2 separate regions of the Homo sapiens genome follow, and region 1 is linked to region 2. Evidence: promoter capture Hi-C in human tissues and cell types (Jung and others, 2019). All regions are on one chromosome and are shown on one strand. The core of a region is centred on a gene start or on the middle of the fragment in contact, and the rest is flanking DNA. Distances in the headings are between cores, read along the strand shown. Region 1 holds the start of STAT3 (signal transducer and activator of transcription 3). Region 2 overlaps CNP (2'',3''-cyclic nucleotide 3'' phosphodiesterase).

The links. Contacts are between HindIII fragments. The study calls those that stand out against the background at their distance.
Region 1: the fragment with the promoter of STAT3 here is called in contact with a fragment that was not itself captured in region 2 in 1 of the 25 tissues and cell types used here (pancreas).

What each region holds. Positions count from the first base shown.
Region 1 is chr17:42,385,627-42,391,070 of GRCh38, forward strand. STAT3 (signal transducer and activator of transcription 3) reads right to left here and starts at 2,816. Exons shown (of 24, transcript NM_139276.3): 1 at 2,653-2,816. RefSeq lists silencers at 2,157-2,236, 2,467-2,746 and an enhancer at 3,267-3,536. The HindIII fragment of the contact is 15,490 bases long and covers 1-5,444 here.
Region 2 is chr17:41,968,285-41,974,491 of GRCh38, forward strand. CNP (2'',3''-cyclic nucleotide 3'' phosphodiesterase) reads left to right here. Exons shown (of 4, transcript NM_033133.5): 2 at 1-456; 3 at 3,608-3,747; 4 at 5,191-6,207. The coding sequence ends at 5,640. Among named protein-coding and RNA genes, the nearest start is that of CNP, 4.6 kb to the left of the region's middle. RefSeq lists enhancers at 1-100, 101-658, 4,889-5,008. The HindIII fragment of the contact is 5,813 bases long and covers 849-6,207 here.

The sequences.
Region 1 (5,444 bases), core at 1,566-4,065, 420 kb after region 2:
ATATCTGAATGTCAAGAGACACGTAGAGGCAGAGAAGTTAAAGCAACTTTCTAGAGACAGAAATGACCACTGATCAAGCCACAATGCACTCTGGTTTAAATGACATTTAGGTCATGACTGTCCTTAATCTAAAACAAACCTAGATTAGTATTTCTTTTCATTAGTAAATAGCTAAATTCTGATGGTAAATTATGCTGACCAAAAACAGTTCCTCACTTCCCAAGTTAGACATAGCAATTAGAAAAATAATCTAAGCAAGCTCCATTTGTATTTCTTTTTTCACCTGTTTATTGAATATTTACCTCCCATGAAGTCTTTCAGCCTATTGGTGGTATTTTACTGTTCAGATATATGTTAGAATTTCACTGATACTTACTGGGCGCGGTGGCTCACACCTGTAATCCCAGCACTTTGGGAGATAGAGGTGGGCAAATCACAAGGTCAGGAGTTCAAGACCAGCCTGGCCAATATGGTAAAACCCCGGTCTCTACTAAAAATACAAAAATTAGCTGGGCGTGGTGGCGCACGCCTGTAGTCCCAGCTACTTGGGAGGCTGAGGCAGGAGAATCGCTTGAACCCAGGAGGCAGAGGTTGCAGTGAGCCAAGATTGCGCCACTGCACTCTAGCCTGGGCAACAGAGCAAGACTCTGACTCAAAAAAAAAAAAAAAAAGAATTTCACTGATACTTTTCACAAAATATACAGAAGGAGGCACAAATTCCACCACTATGGCACTCTGCTGCGTTGGCCAAGTGTCTTGATCCTTTGGCCTCAATTTTCTTATCTACGATATTAGGGTAATTGTTATGTGAACTACCCACCTCACAAGTCCTTTGTGGGTTAATTCATAACTGTGCTGTGGGTATTTCTTTTTCTTTCCTTTCTTCCTCCTTTCCTTTCTTTCTTTCTTAAAGATGGGTTCTCATTATGGTGCTTAGACTAGACTCTAGACCCAATTCCTGGCCTCTCACCATGTTGCCCAGACCAGACTCAACTCCTGGACTCAAGGAATCCTCCCACCTCAGCCTTCAATTAGCTGGGATCAGAGGTGTGCACCACCATGCCTGGCACTGTGGATATTTCTAAGTGATTATTCTTCTCAAATGAACTACATAAAAAACAAAAGATTCATGAATTTACTAATGGTTCTTTGTGATGGATGTGCTAATATAGAGACTAAAATCAAGGCTCCAACCTCTAAAACATTTTTTTTTAAATTCCAGACTTGTTTCCCCATCCCACTGTGCAAACTGAACAAAAACTGGGCTAGCACTCCTGTCTGGAACATGTAATAAGGAAATAAATGTGCTGACTCAGAGAACACAGACATATTTAATATAAAATAAGATAGAAAACTGGCTGAACCAAGTCATAACACAGTCTAAATCCACATATAAAAGATTGAGATGATTTTCTGCTTTGCTTTATTCAAGCCCAATGCTTTATCAGCACAGCCAGCCAAAAATTTACAACCCATACACAGACTATGTAAACCTTTAGTTGCACATACAGTAAGACCAGCAGGTACACACTATACACATTTTTAATTAAAAAAATGACTAACCACTGATTTTGTCACCACACTTAACAACGACCTGATATGGCACAGAGTGATGTGTACCAAACATGGAAATACCAACTTGGGCGACGGTTTGAATCTTGTTAACTTCAGTGCAACCACACCCCCCAAATGCATGTAAAGTTTGCACACATGGTTTTTTCAAGGCCAGCCTGTCTTTGTTTCCCTCTCCTCTGCATTTACCCAAGATCTTGGCTCTGAGACAGAAAACTCCCACTCTCAATTGGTTCATTCCGTCCTATGCAATTAAGCAACACCACAATCCAGTAAATGCAATGGCTCAATTATTTATCTTCTGGCCGACTTTACCAGGTATTTGGAAAAGGACAATGTCAAGAGGTTTATTTCTCTCTCTAGAGCTGGCTTGACGGGTTGATGGGGATTTTATTTTGTCTTTTTTTCTCTTTTTTACAAGGCGGGGACGTGGGGGGAGCATAATTTAACCTAGAAAAAGATGCGAGGGAATTTAGAAAGAGTACCGGTCTGTCAATTTCCCTACAGGAAACTTGATTCTTATGCAATAAAGCCTACCCACGACCAGCCAGCCCGTAAGGCTGCAGGCGACAGACACACCTATTCCTGCCTCCAAAAGGGCACAGCTGTCTCCTGAAGGAGCGGGAACAGGGCAAGCGGAGGAAGTGGCTCAGCGGGAGCCGCCGACCGGGCGGGGAGGAGGCGCTTTCCGACCCCCCACTCGCGCCGGTGATCCCCGTCGGCGTGACAGTCGCTCCGGTGGCCGGAACGTCCCCAGGGCCCCAGGGAGCAGGAAATCGGGGGACTGTCCCTCACTCCTGCCGCCGCAACCGAGTGCGCCCTCGCCCCACGGTGCCCCCTCGAGCGCGTTCTGTTTCTCCGAAGAACGAAACTTCCCTCCAGCGCCCCGAGTCCCTTCCGAGGCCCGCTCCTGTCATCCCGAAGAGTCTTCCCTCAGGGCGACCCTCCGCGTCTCTTCATCTCTCCCGGCCCCACTGCAGCGTCCATCACAACATCCCCAAGGTCCCAGAGGCCCCCTGCCGCTGCGGAGCCCCCGGGTCCCCAGGCCTCCCCAACGGCCCCACCCTGCACCCCCTTCACCTGTTTCTCCGGCAGAGGCCGAGAGGCCGGGGCTGCGCGTGTGCCGGGGACGGGCGGCGAGGCTCCCTCAGGCCGAAGGGCCTCTCCGAGCCGAGGGGGAGAGACAGCGCCAAGCCGGGGTGCCTGTCCAGGATCCGGTTGGGGCTTGTTCCCTCGGCTGCGACGTCGGAACCCCCGGCTCCCCCTCCCAGTCTGCGCCGCCGCAGCTCCGGAAACCGCTGAATTACAGCCCCTTCAGCCAATCCTCGCCCAGCCCCAGCCTGGCCGAGGCACGCCGTCATGCATAATTCATGAAAGGCCAGCTCGTTCGGCCACCCAGAGGTCCCAGTGCGTGTGCGGTACAGCCGAAGCCCCGCCCACTGACCAATGAGGAGAGCAGCTAGGAGAAAGGGCGGAGCCAAGAGGAGACTGATACGCCCCTGTGCTGGCTGTTCCGACAGTTCGGTGCTCCTCCCTCCGCCACAGCGAGGGAAGAGCCGAGGACTTGGGCACAGAAGCCCGGGGGGAGGGAGGGAAGATGACCGGAATGTCCTGCTGAAAACTCAGCTGAGTTCCTGGCAGTGCGTGACGTCAAGGCACTTTAAATGCCCCTGATACAGCTCCCTCCTGCCCGCTCTCCCTTTTCCCGGCCCTTGGCACCACGTGGTGGCGAGGTTGAGAGCCTCTTACCACGCGGGAATCAGCTAGTTAGATAGTCCCCAGGTATCTCCAGATCCTCTGGGGACCCAACTCCTGAATTGGGTTCTGGGGACAACAAAAAGAACATGGGTGACTCCGCCTGCTTTGAACTTCAGTTTCTGCGTGAGCAGGGACACACACACCCGGAAACATGACGTGGAAATAGAGTAATTACTAGAGTGCGTGGGGAGAGGGTAGTGGATTTAACCCCGTACTCCGTTCCATCACTTCAAGCATCAAACGCCGACCAGCTAGCCCATTGGCCCGTACAGGCGAATGCAGAAGACGGTGTATACGAAAGCTGATAACGTGTAGGGCTTGACATTTTTATGCGTCTGAATTGAAATACATGAAATGTTCTGCCTTTTTCTTTTCCACCTTGCCTACTTGGTATGCAAGTTTTACTGAATTGAAGCCAGTGGTTGATAGGAAATGTAGACATTTTGCCTTTCATAATAGAGGATGAACTTTGCATAATGGAGTGATTTCTGTGTATGTGCTGATACTATCAGGGTTTTTAATTTTTATTTTTTTGGGTCTTTAAAAATATGTTATTAATATTTGTGTTTGTTTAATACGAACAGGTATAAAGACAAAAATCTAAAAAGGACCCATTATCTCACTGCTCAGCTAACCCCTGACATATTTTTTTTCAATGAACCTAATACATGTTCCTGTTTAGAAAATGCAGACCGTTCAGAAAGGTCAAAAATATTAAATGAAAATCTTTCCCTACCCCCATCATTCCTTCTCCCCAAGGATAGCTGTTCTTATTAATTTCTAGTGAGAAAAATCAATGACTCTTAACCTTTGAAGGCAGTCACAGATCCTTCTGAGTGTTTGAAGGAGACTAGATTCTAGCCCCAGAAACAATACAAGGTTTTACTCACATGGTTCCCCAGATACCTGAAGCCTGTCTAAGTCTACAGATTCAGACCGCTCGTACCACCTCATATCCAATGAGGGACAGAGGCATCTACAGGGCAATTCATAGGGTCACTGGTGGTGAGAATTGAGAACCTCCTATTGCCCTCTGGTAGACACAGCTCAGTATGGAAATTGCTGTATTTACCTGTAGAGTGTGTGTGTATTGATTAGGCTGTTTATCTACACCACAGGACAGATATCCCCCATCTCCGCCTATAGTCTCTTGTAACTACGCTATCCCGTGCGGCCAACTGCCTCCCTGATAACATAGGGTCTAGGATTTGTTTAGTGATTTACTGCTTACAAAGGACTTACACACCTTATACACTCCCTGCCTGGTTTCTTTCTCACAATCATGAATAGCAGATAGGAGAGGCCATATTATCCGCTGATAGAAAACTAAAGACAACATAATATGACATTTTCAAGATCACAGAGAAACTCAGAAATATACCAGGTTCAGAGTCAGGTTTGGGGGCTTTACGTCCCATAGCTTTGTTCCATTCATTCAAACCCTGCCCTGCTTCTGACTTCTCAAGAGCTGGCCTCTGTTTCCCTCATTGGCCTCCCCACCAGTAACACATAAAATCTACCTCTGCGACTATGGGTTTGACCTGCAAAAATTCTCTTCAGCCCAGACACTGGCCTTTCTCCACAACCCCGCCAAATTCCTCTTGGCTAAATGCTGCAATTTCTGTCCCTTGGGCCACTGCCTTAACCACCTGATTATTCTCTCCTTATTCTATCCTATTCTTCCACTGGCTGCCAGGGACATCATCCTAAAAATTAAATAAATAAACATTCAGGCCAAGGCGGGTGGATCACAAGGTCAGTTCAAGACCAGCCTGGCCAACACAGTGAAACCCCGTCTCTACTAAAAATACAAAAATTAGGCTGGGCACTGTGGCTCACGCCTGTAATCCCAGCACTTTAGGAGGCTGAGGCGGGCAGATCACCTGAGGTCAGGAGTTCGAGACCAGCCTGACTAATATGATGAAACCCTGTCTCTACTAAAAATACAAAAATCAGCCAGTCATGGTGGCTTGCACCTGTAATCCCTGCTACTCGGGAGGCTGAGGGAAGAGAATCTCTTGAACCCGGGAGGTGAAGGTTGCAGTGAGCCGAGATCGCGCCATTGCATTCTAGCCTGGACAACAAGAGCGAAACTCCATCTCAAAACAAAAGTA
Region 2 (6,207 bases), core at 2,505-5,004:
ACCGTGATGGCACCAAGATGGTGTCGGCTGACGCTTACAAGATCACCCCCGGCGCTCGAGGAGCCTTCTCCGAGGAGTACAAGCGGCTCGATGAGGACCTGGCTGCCTACTGCCGCCGCCGGGACATCAGAATTCTTGTGCTTGATGACACCAACCACGAACGGGAACGGCTGGAGCAGCTCTTTGAAATGGCCGACCAGTACCAGTACCAGGTGGTGCTGGTGGAGCCCAAGACGGCGTGGCGGCTGGACTGTGCCCAGCTCAAGGAGAAGAACCAGTGGCAGCTGTCGGCTGATGACCTGAAGAAGCTGAAGCCTGGGCTGGAGAAGGACTTCCTGCCGCTCTACTTCGGCTGGTTCCTGACCAAGAAGAGCTCTGAGACCCTCCGCAAAGCCGGCCAGGTCTTCCTGGAAGAGCTGGGGAACCACAAGGCCTTCAAGAAGGAGCTGCGACAATGTAGGTGGCAGGTTGGGGCCTTATAAGCCCACCTTGCTGGGCACAGGGTGCTGCGGGCAAAGGACCATCATTGTACTCAAAGGATGGAGCACGAAGCAGCAGGAGGCAGAGAGAGGCTCACCTCAGCGGGGGCAGGGGCAAGCGGTGCGTCCCAGTGGTAGCCTTGGGGAGTTGGCAGCACATTGGGAACACGGGGGCTTCCCAGAGCGCCTTTCCTCCCACCACACCTATCCTTCTAGCCCTCTTCTCTCCGACACCCTTTTCCCAGCCTGAATGTAGACCACTGTCCCTTGTCTTGGAGGTGGGAAAAACAAATTACTGTAGTAACAGGAAACATGTCCTCTTCTAATGTAACCTTAGAGGGGGAATCAAGCCCAGTGTTTTCCAACGCATTTTTAGCAGCAGAATCATGTTCCAAAAAATAATAATAATAATCACATGAAATTGTAAGCTGCAAAAAAATTAAAACTAGGACTATTGTGGCTTCACTGGGGATGGTTCTCAGGCCTCGGACTGCTCAATTTACTCATGGGTTTGTGGCATCTGCAGCTCCAGAGGACACAAGTCTCACACTTAGGCCAAAACCCGTTTTCAGATGGAAAAACATGGACCCAGGAGGGATGTGGGGTTTACGGGCTGGAACCCTGGACTCTGGCCACTCTAGCAGGGTTCTCTCTTGGCATGGGCTTTTTGCTCCAATGATAGGTTTGAGATAAAGAAGGGTCCTGGTGGCTCTCCTGGAGTGACCTGTTGGAGAAGTGCCACCCACTAATCCATCTATATGCCTTTAGGCCATTTCTGGTTGCCTCCAATTTTATTTATTTATTTATTGTGACACGGAGTCTCCCTCTGTTGCCCAGGCTGGAGTGCAGTGGCGCTATCTCAGCTCAGTGCAACCTCTGCCTCCCAGATTCAAGCAATTCTCCTGCCTCAGCCTCTCGAGTAGCTAGGACTACAGGTGTGCACCACCACGTCCAGCTAATTTTTGTATTTTTAGTAGAGACGGAGTTTCACAATGTTGGCCAGGCTGGTATTGAACTCCTGACCTCAGGTGATCCGCTTGCCTTGGCCTCCCAAAGTGCTGGGATTACAGGCGTGAGCCACCACCGCACCCAGCCACCCCCAATTTTAGATGATCTTCATGCCTGAAATAGCCCCACTCTGGTTTGTTGACATTGTGTATATTGCACAGAAGCAGGGAATTTGTGCCTGTATGGGTTCTCAGAGAGCTTTTTTCTCAGCTCCTAAACTTGAACTCTGCAGTGAACTGTGGTGCTTGCAGTGACATTGGCCAGGAGCAAGCCCTGTACCTGTGAGCTGGTGGCTCTGCCCTGGAGTGACTACTGCTCAAAGTTGCTTTTAATATTTATTTATGAGACGGAGTCTTGCTCTGTTGCCCAGGCTGGAGTGCAGTGGCATGATCTCGGCTCACTGCAACCTCCGCCTCCTGGGTTCAAGCCAATTCTCTGCCTCAGCTTCCCAAGTAGCTGGGAATACAGGCGCCTGCCACCATGCCCGGCTAATTTTTTTTTATTTTTGTATTTTTAGTAGAGACAGGGTTTCACCATCTTGACCAGGCTGGTCGGTAGCACAAAAGAAAGGAGGGGCCCTTGGCCCAAGATGGGACGAATCAAGCTTGACAGGATGATTGCCAGATCTTTTTTTTTTTTTTTTTTGAGACGGGGGTCTTGCTCTGTCGCCCAGGCTGGAGTGCAGTGGGGCAATTCGGCTTACTGCAACCTCCATCTCCCGGGTTCAAGCAATTCTCCTGCCTCAGCCACCCAAGTAGCTGGGATTACAGGCACCCGCCACCATACCTGGCTAATTTATAAATTTTTAGTAGAGACAGGGTTTCACCATGTTGGCCAGGCTGGTCTCAAACGCCCCGCCTCAATTTCCCAAATTGCCGGGATTACAGGTGCGAGCCACTATGCCCAGCCTATTTTATTTGTAAAGGAAAACTGGATTTTTCTGCCCAGGATTAGAGCAGGAGAAATGTAATGGGCCAGCAAGGCTGCTCTCAGGAGAGGCCTTCCTCCCCTGTGGAGGGCGAGACATCCTCATGGGGACTCAATTCAGAACATAACAGGAAAAAGCGAGTGACTCCAAAGACAGCCACAGGTGTGGAGTCTGGAAATCAAAATCACAGATACTCCACTCCTCTTTGTGTCTTCCAGCCCCATAATGTCACCCCATTATAGTCCAAGACCCTTCCTGTACCAGGAGGCCCCCCCATAGGCCTGCAAGGTGTGTATTAAACTGATGGTGACGTTGTGACTGCTTGTCCAGATGGGCCCCTGAGTGAAATGGGGCACTACTGATAGTTCCCTGGTGGTCCTGGGAACACTGGGGTATATGGTCACCCTAACTGTTGTGCTGGATTGATAGATAGGGTTGGTCACTTGCCCGAGGCCGATGGCTGGTACATGGCAGAGCTGAGATATTCACTGTGTTCTGGCTGTTTCCACCGTACCATGTTGTTCCCAGCCCTCTGTTTTCTTTCCACCCCACTTCCCATGACTTGCTTCCCCTTTGAGACGTGGTGCTAGTAAATCTTAGATTCCCTTGGCCTGTACTGCCTGCCTCTGTTACAAATGCCTTAGAGTTTGGAGAAGAGATGGAAAGATCTATACAATGTAAAGCCAGAGAATTTTAACTTTTTTTTTTTTTTTTTTGGAGACGGAGTCTTGCTCTGTTGCCTAGGCTGGAGTGCAGTGGCACTATCTCGGCTCGCTGTATCCTCTGCCTCCTGGGTTCAAGCAATTCTCTACCTCAGCCTCCCAAGTAGCTGGGATTACAGGCGCCCGCCACCACGCCTGGCTAATTTCTTTGTATTTTTAGTAGAGACGGGGTTTCACCATCTTGGCCAGGCTGGTCTTGAATTCCTGACCTTGTGATCCACCCACCTCGGCCTCCCAGAGTGCTGGGATTACAGGTGTGAACCACCGCACCTGGCCTGAGAATTTTAACTTTTTATTGCTCTAAAGTTGCCATTAGTTTGACCAACTAACCAATGAATGAGCTGTAGTGGGTTGCTGGAGAGGTGATGCTTAGTGTCCGAGTGTTTTGCGCTGGGCCTCGGTGGTCCTGGTGGCGGATGTTGGTATGCCCCTGCTCCCCTGCCCTGACTGCACCCGTTTTCTCCCGGCAGTCGTCCCTGGGGATGAGCCCAGGGAGAAGATGGACTTGGTCACCTACTTTGGAAAGAGACCCCCAGGCGTGCTGCATTGCACAACCAAGTTTTGTGACTACGGGAAGGCTCCCGGGGCAGAGGAGTACGCTCAACAAGATGTGAGTCTTCCCCAGGGACACATGGGGGAGGTGGGAGGTTGGGGGAGAAGGGGCTGCAGCATCTTCTGAAGATAGGTACCGGTGCCAGGCAGGGACCAAAAACCAGATGGCAGCTCAAGAAAAATGGCATCTCCTCCTCCTAGCTCCCCTGTCCCCAGGCGTAGCTGCATAGACCTCAGCCGCAGGTTCTAAGGAGCCTGCCCTGGCAGTACTGCCAGCCTGTGCATTCACCTGCCCCCAAGCACCTTCGCCTTCTGCAGATTCATGGAGAATGCTGGTCCACAGTGGGCTCCTGCTCTGGTCTCTCTGAGCCTGTTTTACCTTCCAAAGACTAGGAGTCCTTCGCCCCCAGGGAGCCTGGTGCACTGAGGTCCCCATCCCTGTCCCCAGGTCTGAGGTCTGGCCTGGCCCCAGAGTGAGGGAGTTTCATACGATAATGAAGCTTATTGGCTAATGGGTACGAGACCTTTCTGCACCACACAGCTGGCACCTTACACCCACAGCCACTGACAGTGATCCCTGAATGCCAGGCATGTCACCCATATCCACAGTCTCCAACTTCCAAGTGTCCACCCCCAAGCCCACTCTCCCACTTCTCTGCCTAGGTTAGCACAATCGTTTGTTTGTTCACTAGAGTGTCCTCCCAAATGGAAGCTCCCCTGAGGGCGAGTTTTTAAGTTTCGTTGACTCCTGTGGTTCCAGCACCCTAGCATAGTGGAATGAATATGTAACACCTGAGCTACCATCCCTAACCATGCCTTCATTTAGCATTTATTAACTACCCATTTCATGCCAGACACTGTTGGGACAAGGGATCGTGAGCAAAAATAGAAAAGCGTTTATGCTGAGATGGGATGGGCTGTCTCAAAGAATCAGATAGAAGCAGACATATCATCAGATGGGAACCAAAGTGTAAGAGCAGGTTTCCATCAAGGGCGAGTCTGACCTCAGTCTGACCTCACCCTGTCCTCCAGGGCGCTGTCTGGGTCCCAGGGGAAGCTGAGCGGTGCCAACAGTAGCAGCTGTTGTGTGCGCGGACACCCCTGTGGGCTGTTTACCTAGTCACTCTCATAACCACATTAACTCTGAGGTAGGCTCTGGTTCTCCCTGTTTTACGGGTGATGAAGCCAAGGCACCGAGAGGTCAGCCAGCCCGCTGAGGCCGGAAGCCAGTGTGCAGGGAGCTGGGCTCCCTCAGGAAGTCCGGCTGTCCCCGTGTGGCCCTGTCTGAGCGCCTTCGTGTTTCTCACTTGAGCCTGGAGCGCCTATGGAAGGTGCGTGCCGCAGTTGTTAGTGGATGCTGGGCCTATACCGACCCCTGCTCAGCTGTGCTCACTTCTGTTAGACTTCCCCTTCTCTCCTCCAGGAGGGACCCTCCCTGGGTCAGCTGTTCCTCAAGAGCCTGCCATCTCTAGCTTGGGCCCCTCTTTCTCACTCTCCCCAGGTGTTAAAGAAATCTTACTCCAAGGCCTTCACGCTGACCATCTCTGCCCTCTTTGTGACACCCAAGACGACTGGGGCCCGGGTGGAGTTAAGCGAGCAGCAACTGCAGTTGTGGCCGAGTGATGTGGACAAGCTGTCACCCACTGACAACCTGCCGCGGGGGAGCCGCGCCCACATCACCCTCGGCTGTGCAGCTGACGTAGAGGCCGTGCAGACGGGCCTTGACCTCTTAGAGATTCTGCGGCAGGAGAAGGGGGGCAGCCGAGGCGAGGAGGTGGGCGAGCTAAGCCGGGGCAAGCTCTATTCCTTGGGCAATGGGCGCTGGATGCTGACCCTGGCCAAGAACATGGAGGTCAGGGCCATCTTCACGGGGTACTACGGGAAAGGCAAACCTGTGCCCACGCAAGGTAGCCGGAAGGGGGGCGCCTTGCAGTCCTGCACCATCATATGAGTGTTCTCACCACCACTTATGCCCCTAGAAGGGAAGGGGAGAGGGAAACGTGCCCTCTGTTTGATCCTTGTTTTGTGACATTTTTTTTTTTTTTTTTTTTACTCAAAGTTAACCTACCTGTAACTTTTTAAAAACTTGTAAAATAACTGACCCTCCCTTCCTGTCCGCCCTCTTCCCCTCTAATGCTCACGCTCCCAACACAAGGTGGGCAGGGAGGCACCATTCAGGAACCTGGACCAAAGCTGACGAGGCTGGGCCAAGCCAGGGATGGGGCCACAGCCAGAACCCCGAGCCCTACTTCCAGGTTCTGGTTAGCTCAGCCCCAGCCCAGCCCAGCTGCTCTGCCCAGAGCTGGGTGAGTGGGGAGACACCTCAGAGCCCCGCAAAACCCACTGACCGGAGGCAAAAGGCAGTGGGGCTGGGGGTAGTTTTCCATGGTCACAGAGAACTAGTGGTGGCTCTGAGAAGGGGAGGACCTCTGGGCTTTGATTCCATCTCCTTGTCTTTTTTCTTTGTTTTTAGAGACAGGGTCCTGCTATTTCCCAAGCTGGAGTGCAGTGGTGCGAT